Regions from separate parts of the Homo sapiens genome. Here regions 2 and 3 are each linked to region 1. Evidence: promoter capture Hi-C in 16 types of primary human blood cells and fetal thymus (Javierre and others, 2016). All regions are on one chromosome and are shown on one strand. The core of a region is centred on a gene start or on the middle of the fragment in contact, and the rest is flanking DNA. Distances in the headings are between cores, read along the strand shown. Region 1 holds the start of SMARCC2 (SWI/SNF related BAF chromatin remodeling complex subunit C2). Region 2 has its middle 6.4 kb from the start of MIP. Region 3 holds the start of GLS2 (glutaminase 2).

The links. Contacts are between HindIII fragments. The CHiCAGO score rates a contact against its expected background, and 5 or more counts as called.
Region 2: a fragment that was not itself captured here is called in contact with the fragment with the promoter of SMARCC2 in region 1 in 17 of 17 cell types (naive CD8 T cells, total CD8 T cells, naive CD4 T cells and 14 more); the score reaches 14.3 in naive CD8 T cells.
Region 3: a contact is called between the fragment with the promoter of GLS2 here and the fragment with the promoter of SMARCC2 in region 1, in 9 of 17 cell types (naive CD4 T cells, naive CD8 T cells, naive B cells and 6 more). The highest score is 7.9, in naive CD4 T cells.

The regions. Positions count from the first base shown.
Region 1 is chr12:56,188,115-56,190,814 of GRCh38, forward strand. It overlaps SMARCC2 (SWI/SNF related BAF chromatin remodeling complex subunit C2), which reads right to left and starts at 1,369. Exons shown (of 29, transcript NM_001330288.2): 1 at 1,237-1,369. The coding sequence starts at 1,347. TRS-CGA4-1 (tRNA-Ser (anticodon CGA) 4-1) reads left to right here and starts at 2,250; the gene lies at 2,250-2,331. It overlaps LOC107984468 (a long non-coding RNA gene), which reads left to right and starts at 2,578. Exons shown (of 2, transcript XR_007063330.1): 1 at 2,578-2,700. RefSeq lists silencers at 1,106-1,325, 1,396-1,675 and an enhancer at 1,916-2,015. The HindIII fragment of the contact is 5,408 bases long and covers 1-2,700 here.
Region 2 is chr12:56,459,718-56,462,417 of GRCh38, forward strand. No RefSeq gene overlaps it. Among named protein-coding and RNA genes, the nearest start is that of MIP, 6.4 kb to the left of the region's middle. The HindIII fragment of the contact is 1,981 bases long and covers 264-2,244 here.
Region 3 is chr12:56,486,911-56,489,610 of GRCh38, forward strand. GLS2 (glutaminase 2) reads right to left here and starts at 1,251. Exons shown (of 18, transcript NM_013267.4): 1 at 1,027-1,251. The coding sequence starts at 1,208. It overlaps LOC124902944 (a long non-coding RNA gene), which reads left to right. Exons shown (of 2, transcript XR_007063331.1): 1 at 1-42; 2 at 77-422. RefSeq lists an enhancer at 788-1,007 and a silencer at 1,168-1,597. The HindIII fragment of the contact is 16,217 bases long and covers 1-2,700 here.

The DNA of each region.
Region 1 (2,700 bases), core at 119-2,618:
AGGGAAAGGTAAATGACAAAGAGCTAAGAGCATGGAAGCTGAACCAGGTCACAACTGTCAATTCCCCCAAGGCCGGAGGCTAAGCCCCTAGCCTGATCTCCCTGCAAAAGGTCAAAGGTAGAAGCCTGGGAATAAGAGCCTCTCACAGGCGTAGAGACATGCCATAGAAATAGCAGCTATTTGTCAGGATTCTCACACCCAGAGAGACCCCAAGGGCAGGGCCAGGCTCACAACCAGCATCAGTAGGAAGTTCTCCTAAGCCACTAAGCACACTTCTGACGAGCTGCAAAGCCGGCAGGAAGAACTGGGGAGCTGAAAGAAAGCCATAAAGAGAATCCCTCTCTGAGGGTAGTGAGAAAAAGAGAGGCAGACCATTTCCAGAGAAAACCAGGCCTAGAGACAAAGACGACACCAGGAAGAGGTTTGGTAGAAAAGACAGGTAAGGATTCTTGAACCTTTTGTTCACCACCTTATGATCTCCAGTTATGGGGTTTGGGTGTGAGGGGCTAGAGATAGGAAGCTCACCCTAACCTCTCGACCCCAAACCCAGGGTACTGCAAAGCTAGGTTGCAAGGTGACTTCATTGTAAAATCGAGGAAAGGTTTCGGAAGGGGCCGCTACCCAGGAACTCCTATACCCCGGCTCCCTGAGAGATTCTGTTGCCCCTTAGATGAAGGTGGGGGATGAGCGGCGGAGACAGGTGATCCCTGGGTGGAGACCTTTTTCAGGCTGATGAGCAGCCAACGGCTTGCTCTGTGACTGTTTACCCTCCTGCTTTCCATTCTCTCTCTCTGAACATACACAAAGCACCGGAGAGGCCTCAGCCCCGCTGGTACCTGGCTCCGTGGGGAGCTCTGGCGGGCACGCTCCGGGTTGCGGGGGAGCCCATTGGGCACCCGGTCCACACCCGGCCGGCCGCCTCTCCCAGAAAAGCCAGGAGGGCGATGGCTGAGGGGAAGGTGGGCTAATGGCACCGGGGCCCGCCGGGCAGTAGAGAAAAACAAGGGGCAGAGGGCGCAGCAGTGGGGGCGGGGGCTGGGCTCAGAGGCTGGGGGTGCGGGGAGAGGGAGGCTGGGGGAGGGGCGCGGGAGCGCAGGAGGGCGCGCGGGGGGCTGCTTGGGAGGCCGCGGGGGAGGGGCTGGGGCGCCTGGAGGGTAGGCAGGATCCCGGGGCTGCAGGGCCGCGGTCCCTTTGTCCCGCCCCCGGTCCCCGCGCGGCCCGGCCCGGCCCGCGTACCTTCTTGTAGTTCTTGCCGAGCCACAGCCGCACGTTGTCGAACTGGGTCACGGTGTCCGCGGCCTCGTAGTACTTCACGTTGGGGCCGCCGTCCTTCTTCCGCACCGCCATCTTCTCCGGCTCGGGCCCCGCCGCCGCCCGCCCCACTCAGCTCAGCTCCCGCCTCCTCCGCCTCCTCCTCCGCCCGCCTCCCGCCGCCTCCCGCCGCCGCGGCCGCCGCCTCCCGCCGCCTGGGCCGGCCCCGGTCCGCGCTGCGCCCCCTGCCGGCAGGCCGGGCGCGGCGGCGGAGCTCCAGGCGCGGGCCGACCCTGGCGGCCTCCCCGGCAGCGGAGGCGGGAGCCTCCGGGGAGAAGGACGCTTCCTGGAGGGGGCGCCATTCTCCTGAGATCGCTCTTACCAGACGCGAAGCCCTTTCCCTCTTTTTGCCTCAGCTCGGGAGTGTCACCTCGCTATCCCACTCCAGGCGGCCGCCAGTCGCTGGAGCAGCCCCAACCCGTAGACCCGAGTGGTCCTCACCTTGCGCATTCCTAACCCGACGAAGCCCCTCGTCCCCCAAAACCCCAAACCCCTTTCCCCAAGAAGTTCCTTCCTTCCATCCATTCACAGCAGCTCCCCATTTAAACTTTTCAGAGTCTCCCTCACTCCTCGCGCCTTGTCCACCCAGCACTCCCCTCACTTGTTAACCCAAATGTCCCCTAGTCGCCACCCTGGCGGCCCAGTGCCTTCCCTCAACTGCTTCCTCCGCAGGCCTCGCTGTCGCCTCCTAAGTAGGTGTGAGCTCCTACTCGAGACCCCGACTCTTCGCTAGGCAGGAGACCCTCCCTCCCTGGGTCACCCAGTCCATCCGACTCTTTTTCTTTGGGTGGCGTAGATAGGAGGTAAGGAACCGAGGGGTGGGGAGTCCTCAGGTGTGTGTGTGTCGGGGCCGGTACCCTGCTTCCGGTTCCCGCACGCATTCCCGGATTGCAGTGCGGACCCCTTCTGTAAGCGCGCGATAAAGCGCGGTTTTGGAAGTCACGGTGGCCGAGTGGTTAAGGCGTTGGACTCGAAATCCAATGGGGTTTCCCCGCACAGGTTCGAATCCTGTTCGTGACGGGTTTTTTTTTTTTTTCTTTCTTCTTCTTATTATTAAAAGGGAGTCTCGCTCTGTTGCTCAGGCTGGAGTGCAGTGGCGCGATCTCGGCTCACCGCAACCTCCGCTTCCCGGGTTCAAGCAATTCTCCTGCCTTAGCTTCCCGAGTAGCTGGGACCACAGGCATGCGTCACCATACCTGGCTAATTTTTGTATTTTTAGTAGAGACAGGTTCACCATATTGGCCAGGCTGGTCTCAAACTCCTGACCTCAGGTTATCTGCCCGCCTCGGCCTCCCAAAATGCTGGGATTACAGGCGTCGACTTTTTTAACCCCTTTCACAGCACATAAAGGTAACCCCAGTTCTCACACGTTTCTTTCGTGCACTTTCT
Region 2 (2,700 bases), core at 4-2,503, 270 kb after region 1:
CCTCCCAAAGTGCTGGGATTACAAGCATAACCATAGAACCTGGCCTTTTTTTTTTTTTTTTTTTTTTTTTTTTTTGAGACGGGGTCTTGCTCTGTCTCAAAAAAGGTGAGACTCCAGGCTGGGGTGTAGTGACGCAATCTCCCAGGCTCAAACAATCCTCCCACCACCTCAGCCTCCCAAATAGCTGGGACTACAGGCATGCACCATCACACCTAGCTAATGTTTGTATTTTTTGTAGAGATGGGGTTTTGCCGTGTGACCCAAGCTTATCTTGAACTCTTGGGCTCAAGCAATCTGCCTGCCTTGGCCTCCCAAAGTGCTGGGATTACAGGCGTGAGGCACCTCACCCAGCCTTAGCCTAGCCTTTTTAACAAAAAAACAACAAAAAACAAATACAATCCAGGCGCAGTGGCTCACGCCTGTAATACCAGCCCTTGGGAGGCCGAGGCGAGCGGATCACGAGGTCAGGAGATCGAGACCATCCTGGCTAACACGGTGAAACCCCGTCTCTACTAAAAATACAAAAAATTAGCCGGGCGTGGTGGCAGGCGCCTGTAGTCCCAGCTCCTCGGTAGGCTGAGGCAGGAGAATGGCGTGAACCAGGGAGGCGGAGCTTGCAGTGAGCCGAGATTGCACCACTGCACTCTAGCTTGGGCGACAGAGCAAGACTTCATCTCAAAACAAAAAACAAAAAACAAAAAAAGGCTGTGTCTCCCTTCAGAAGTGGGATGCACCTGTGGTCCCAGTTACTTGGAAGGCTGAGGCGGTGAGCTGTGATGGTGCCACTGCACTCCAGCCTGGGCAACAGAGTGAAACCCTGTCTCAAAACAACACCATAAAATAACCAGGCCTTAGCGTGGTTCACTGAGCCTGTGGAGGTTGAGGCTGCAGTGGGCCATGATTGCACTACTGCACTCCAGCCTGGACCACAGAGTGAGACTCTGTCTTAAAAAACAAAACAAAATAAAAACAAAAACAAAAGAAAAGAAATCTGCCAAGGAAGGTGACTTTGGAGAATTGCCTAGGAATAAGGGGATTTCTGGGGTCTAACCCTCCCGGGTGATGCCAGGACACACTCCAGTTCATCTTCCTCTTTTTTTCTTGTTCACTTGTTCCCCCCTTTGCTATTATTCTACTTCATTCTTGTATTTGGGGTTCTTTTCAGGGGTTGCAAAATGTTTTTAGCTATAGATTCTCCACCTTTCTTTTCTTCTGGCATTAAGTAAGTATACAAATGTTTTTGAAGTTTTTTCCAACAGGGACTATGAAAATGGAGAAAGGATTTGTAAAATAACAAATTTGAGTAATTACAAAGTTATTATAAATCTTAATGGCTCCTAGCAGTAATCACCCTGAATTCTCATTTGTCTCTATACTTAACTGAGTTAGCTCTTGATTACTAATGATCAGTCTTTCAAACTTTAGGACAGTGACAGTGATCCTAGCTTACTCCCCACTTCAATAAGGAAGGCTCCATTGCTTAGTCCCAGAGAGTGCTATACAACCATAATCCATAGTAATAGAGAGCAAGTGGGTCTATATAGCTTAGGAAATCTGCAGGCAGAGCTATTTTTCTTGCTGTGTTCCTCCACAGTGGGTCCCATGTGATTACCATAGTCACCTCTAAGGATGTCCAGGACTGACTCACCATCTTACTGCAGCTACTCCCTAGCCAGCTCATATTATCAGGACCTGAAGAATATATCAGGTTTGAGTTCCATAAACGATCTACGCTGGACAGGTGTGGTGGCTCGTGCCTGTAACCTCAACACTTTGGGAGGCCAAGGCAGGAGGACTACCTTGTCAGGAGTTCAAGTCCAGCTTGGGCAACATAACAAGACCCTGTCTCTATAAGAAATTTTTAAAAATTAGAGGGTGTGGTGGCACGTGCCTATAGTCTTAGCTACTCAGGAGGCTGAGGTGGAAGGTTCACTTGAGTCCAGGAATTCAAGGCTACAGTGAGCTATGATTATGTCACTGCATTCCAGCCTGGGTGACGGAGCGAGACTGTGTCTCTTTAAAAGAAAACAAAATAGTATTTTACTGCCTATCCGGCCAGATTGTAAAAATATAAATAAATGTAAATATATATAAATAAATTATATATATAAATTATATATAAAATAAATAAATAAAATGTAAAAGGAAAAATAGCCAGTCATGGTGACTCATGCCTGTAATCCCAGCACTTTGGGAGGCCAAGGCAGGAGGATCACCAGAGGCCAGGAGTTCAAGGCTGCAGTAAGCTTATGGCACCACTGCACTTTAGCCTTGGCAACAGAGGGAGACTCTGTTCAAAACAATAAATAAAGGCCAGGCGCAGGGGTTCACACCTGTAATCCTAGCACTCTGGAGGCCGAGGCAGGCGGATTACTTGAGGCCAGGAGTTCATGACCAGTCTGGCCAACATGGTGAAACCCGTCTCTACTAAAAATATAAAAATTAGCTGGGCATGGTGGTGTATGCCTGTAGTCCCAGCTACTTGGGAGGCTGAGGCAGGAGAATGGCTTGAACCCGGGAGGTGGAGGCTGCAGTGAGCTGAGATCATGCCATTGCACTCCAGCCTGGGTGACAGAATGAGACTACGTCTCACAAAAAAATAAAAATAAAAAAAATAAATAAATAGATAAAATAAAAATAATAAAAACAAAATAAAATAAATACAAATAAATGAGCTGGGTGCAGTAGCACATGCCTGTA
Region 3 (2,700 bases), core at 1-2,500, 300 kb after region 1:
CCTATTGGTGTCCCTTACGACAGAGACTCGAGTAGTGGTGAGGTAGTGTTGTGTCAGAGACTCGAGTAGTGGTGAGGTAGTGTTGTGTCAGTCTGGCTACTTTACTGATGGTGTCCATGTTTCTGAGTGTCATCAGGGAGATGGCAGCGACGAGGGAGATGGCCCATTTCCTGTTCCTGCTACAGTAGAGCAGGGGCTCTTTGGACAGTGTCTATGCTGGCCCTCTGGGGAGGACAAGATTTCCTGCTCAGCACCGTCTGGGTCTCAGAGAAAAAGGCTCAGCCACCAAGTGTGTCCTAGGCGGTGGGGAAGATAAAGGTTTGGCATCCTGGGTGGAAGAAACACCCAAAGGAAGAGAACGTTTTAGATTCTGGAGCCTGGGCAGCACAAATAAAGGCTCTGACTGGCTCTGGTTTGGGAAATCTGCGTCTTAAAGACCTTTCCTCCATTACAAATATTCTCCCCATTCAACAACCAGTTTGGAAATTCCCCCCCATTCTGCTGTTCAGGGAGCACTGCTACGCACACACCCAACACTTATGGACGTACCTGCGCACCAATAATACACGCGCATCACACATTACCTGCCGAGAACACGCAGAAACACAACACACAGACCCCAGTACACCTGGACCGGAGGCAGGAGGCTGTTCCACATCCACGCATCTCCTAAAATACACACGAGGACTAGGGAAGGTGAGGACTGGCGGCGTGAGCCCGGCCCTGCACTCAGACACGTGAGCCAAGCAACACTCGGCGCGCATCTGTGATCCGGGTTAAGTGCGCACCTTGGACAGGCGCCATCCCCAGGACCCGCTTGCCCGAACGCACTCCTAGGCAGACGGCAGATTACCGCCCGAGCGCGGCGCACCCAAAGCCCCACATCCAAAGGAAAAGGCACCGAGGGCTAGTGAGCGAGGAGAGGGGAGATGAGCGGCGCTGCCTTGGAAGGGCACTCGGGAACTAGCGAGAACCACAGTGGGAGTGGGGGCAAGCCCGTCCCCTGCCCTGTCCCAGGAGCCTTACTGATCCTGGTGCTGCGGCTGGTGGCTGTGTGGCGTCTCTCTGCCCTGCGCCGCGGCCTCACTGAGGTGGTGCCGGACGCCCCCGCCAAGGAGGGGGCTCCGGCTCGGGTGACCCCAGCCTCCTCGCCCGCAGTGACTGCCAGCCCGGCTCAGGGCCTTCTGCAGAGCCTTCATGGAGCGCATGCCCCAGCAAGCCTCCGGCTCTGCAGGTGCGCCCGGGACCTCTAGCTGTGGCTGGGAAGGAGGGGCGGAGCGAGCGAGACAAGGTGCGGGGGAGTTCTGTGAGGGAGCGCTGGACCTGGAAGACGGAGAATGTGGGCCCGGTGGGTGGGGCTGGGGCTGGGGCAGGAGAAGGGGCCTGCCCCTTTAAAGCTGGCTCCAGGGTTAGGGGCACCCTCAGGACAGGGGCTAGGTGAGGAGCGTTGGGGATGAAGGAGAACCCGGGTGGCTTTCTAGTGGGTGGAGAGAGGGCGGTGCCTGGGAGCTGGAATGGACAATGCCCAGGTCCAATCACTGAGGAAGCAAAAACATTGAGGCGGGGAAAGGGTAAGGTTGCCCAATGAGAGCAAGACGGTGGGACCTTGCGACAGTCTGCGGATGCTTCCGCGTGGGCCCGGCGAGCGCGGGTATCCGCGGATGCTGAGGGCGGGAAAGGCGAGGACAAGCTGAGGCGAAGCCGGTGGGGGCGGGAGGCGCTCCCCGGGAACACCGTGGGGCTGCGAATGATGGAGTTGTCGTGTAGAGAGGAGGGTGCTGCCTCGAGAGAGGAGGCTAAGTAAGAGTGAGCCCAGTTCAGGAGGTCACTCAGAGAGCCTCGACCTCCGAAGGCCAAACCAGCGCCCAGTAACCCGGCGGGTAGCGTGGCGCGCGGCCGACGTGCGGTGGTGCTGAGTGGAGAGTAGGATGACTGCTGGGTACCCCGGGCAGAAGCAGCCGACCAGCACCTCAGGGAGGCATTGGGCGGCGGGAAGGTCGCTCTGGCGGTTAGGAAGCCTGGGTTCCAGTTTGTGTCCCTCTACCATTTATTTGGTGTAGGACTTGTTTTCAAATCTGGAAAGTTAAGACATTAAAATAAGTTGGCACGCAGAAAAACGTTTTATAAACCATGAAGTGCTCCCCACATTTTTCCTATTTTAATTGTTTGCCCTTGTCCTCCTCACGGGCAGAAAAGAGGCGATATACAAAAAGCATTTTGAAATCCAAGAACATTCAGGACTTTTGCCATTTGCAGCTAGAACTTTCACCTTGTATCTCGGCAGCGCCTAACCCAGCATCCATATTTAGTAGGGACTCATTATGTAAATGATAGCTATTATTGAGTGCCCATGGTGTTCCAACCGCTTAGTTTCTCTCTCCCTCTTACCAGAGACCTACAAAGTAGTTATTAGTCTCAATTTGAAGGTGAGGAAACTAAGACTAGGAAATTAAGAATTCTCGCATAAGGTAACCCAGCTAGTAAGTACCAGAACCAGAAATTAGACCCGTTTTTTTTTTTTAACTACAAGTCTCTCCTTCATGCAGCCCTTCTCAAAAATTAAGCATTGAATTGAATTATCCCGGGAGAAATGACCCCATCCCTAAAGGAGGTATTTTATGTGGAAGTATTATGATACAGTACTGGGAGTCTTTTCCTTGTGATAGTTCTGGCTGTATCACAAAATACTAGTTTTTGTTT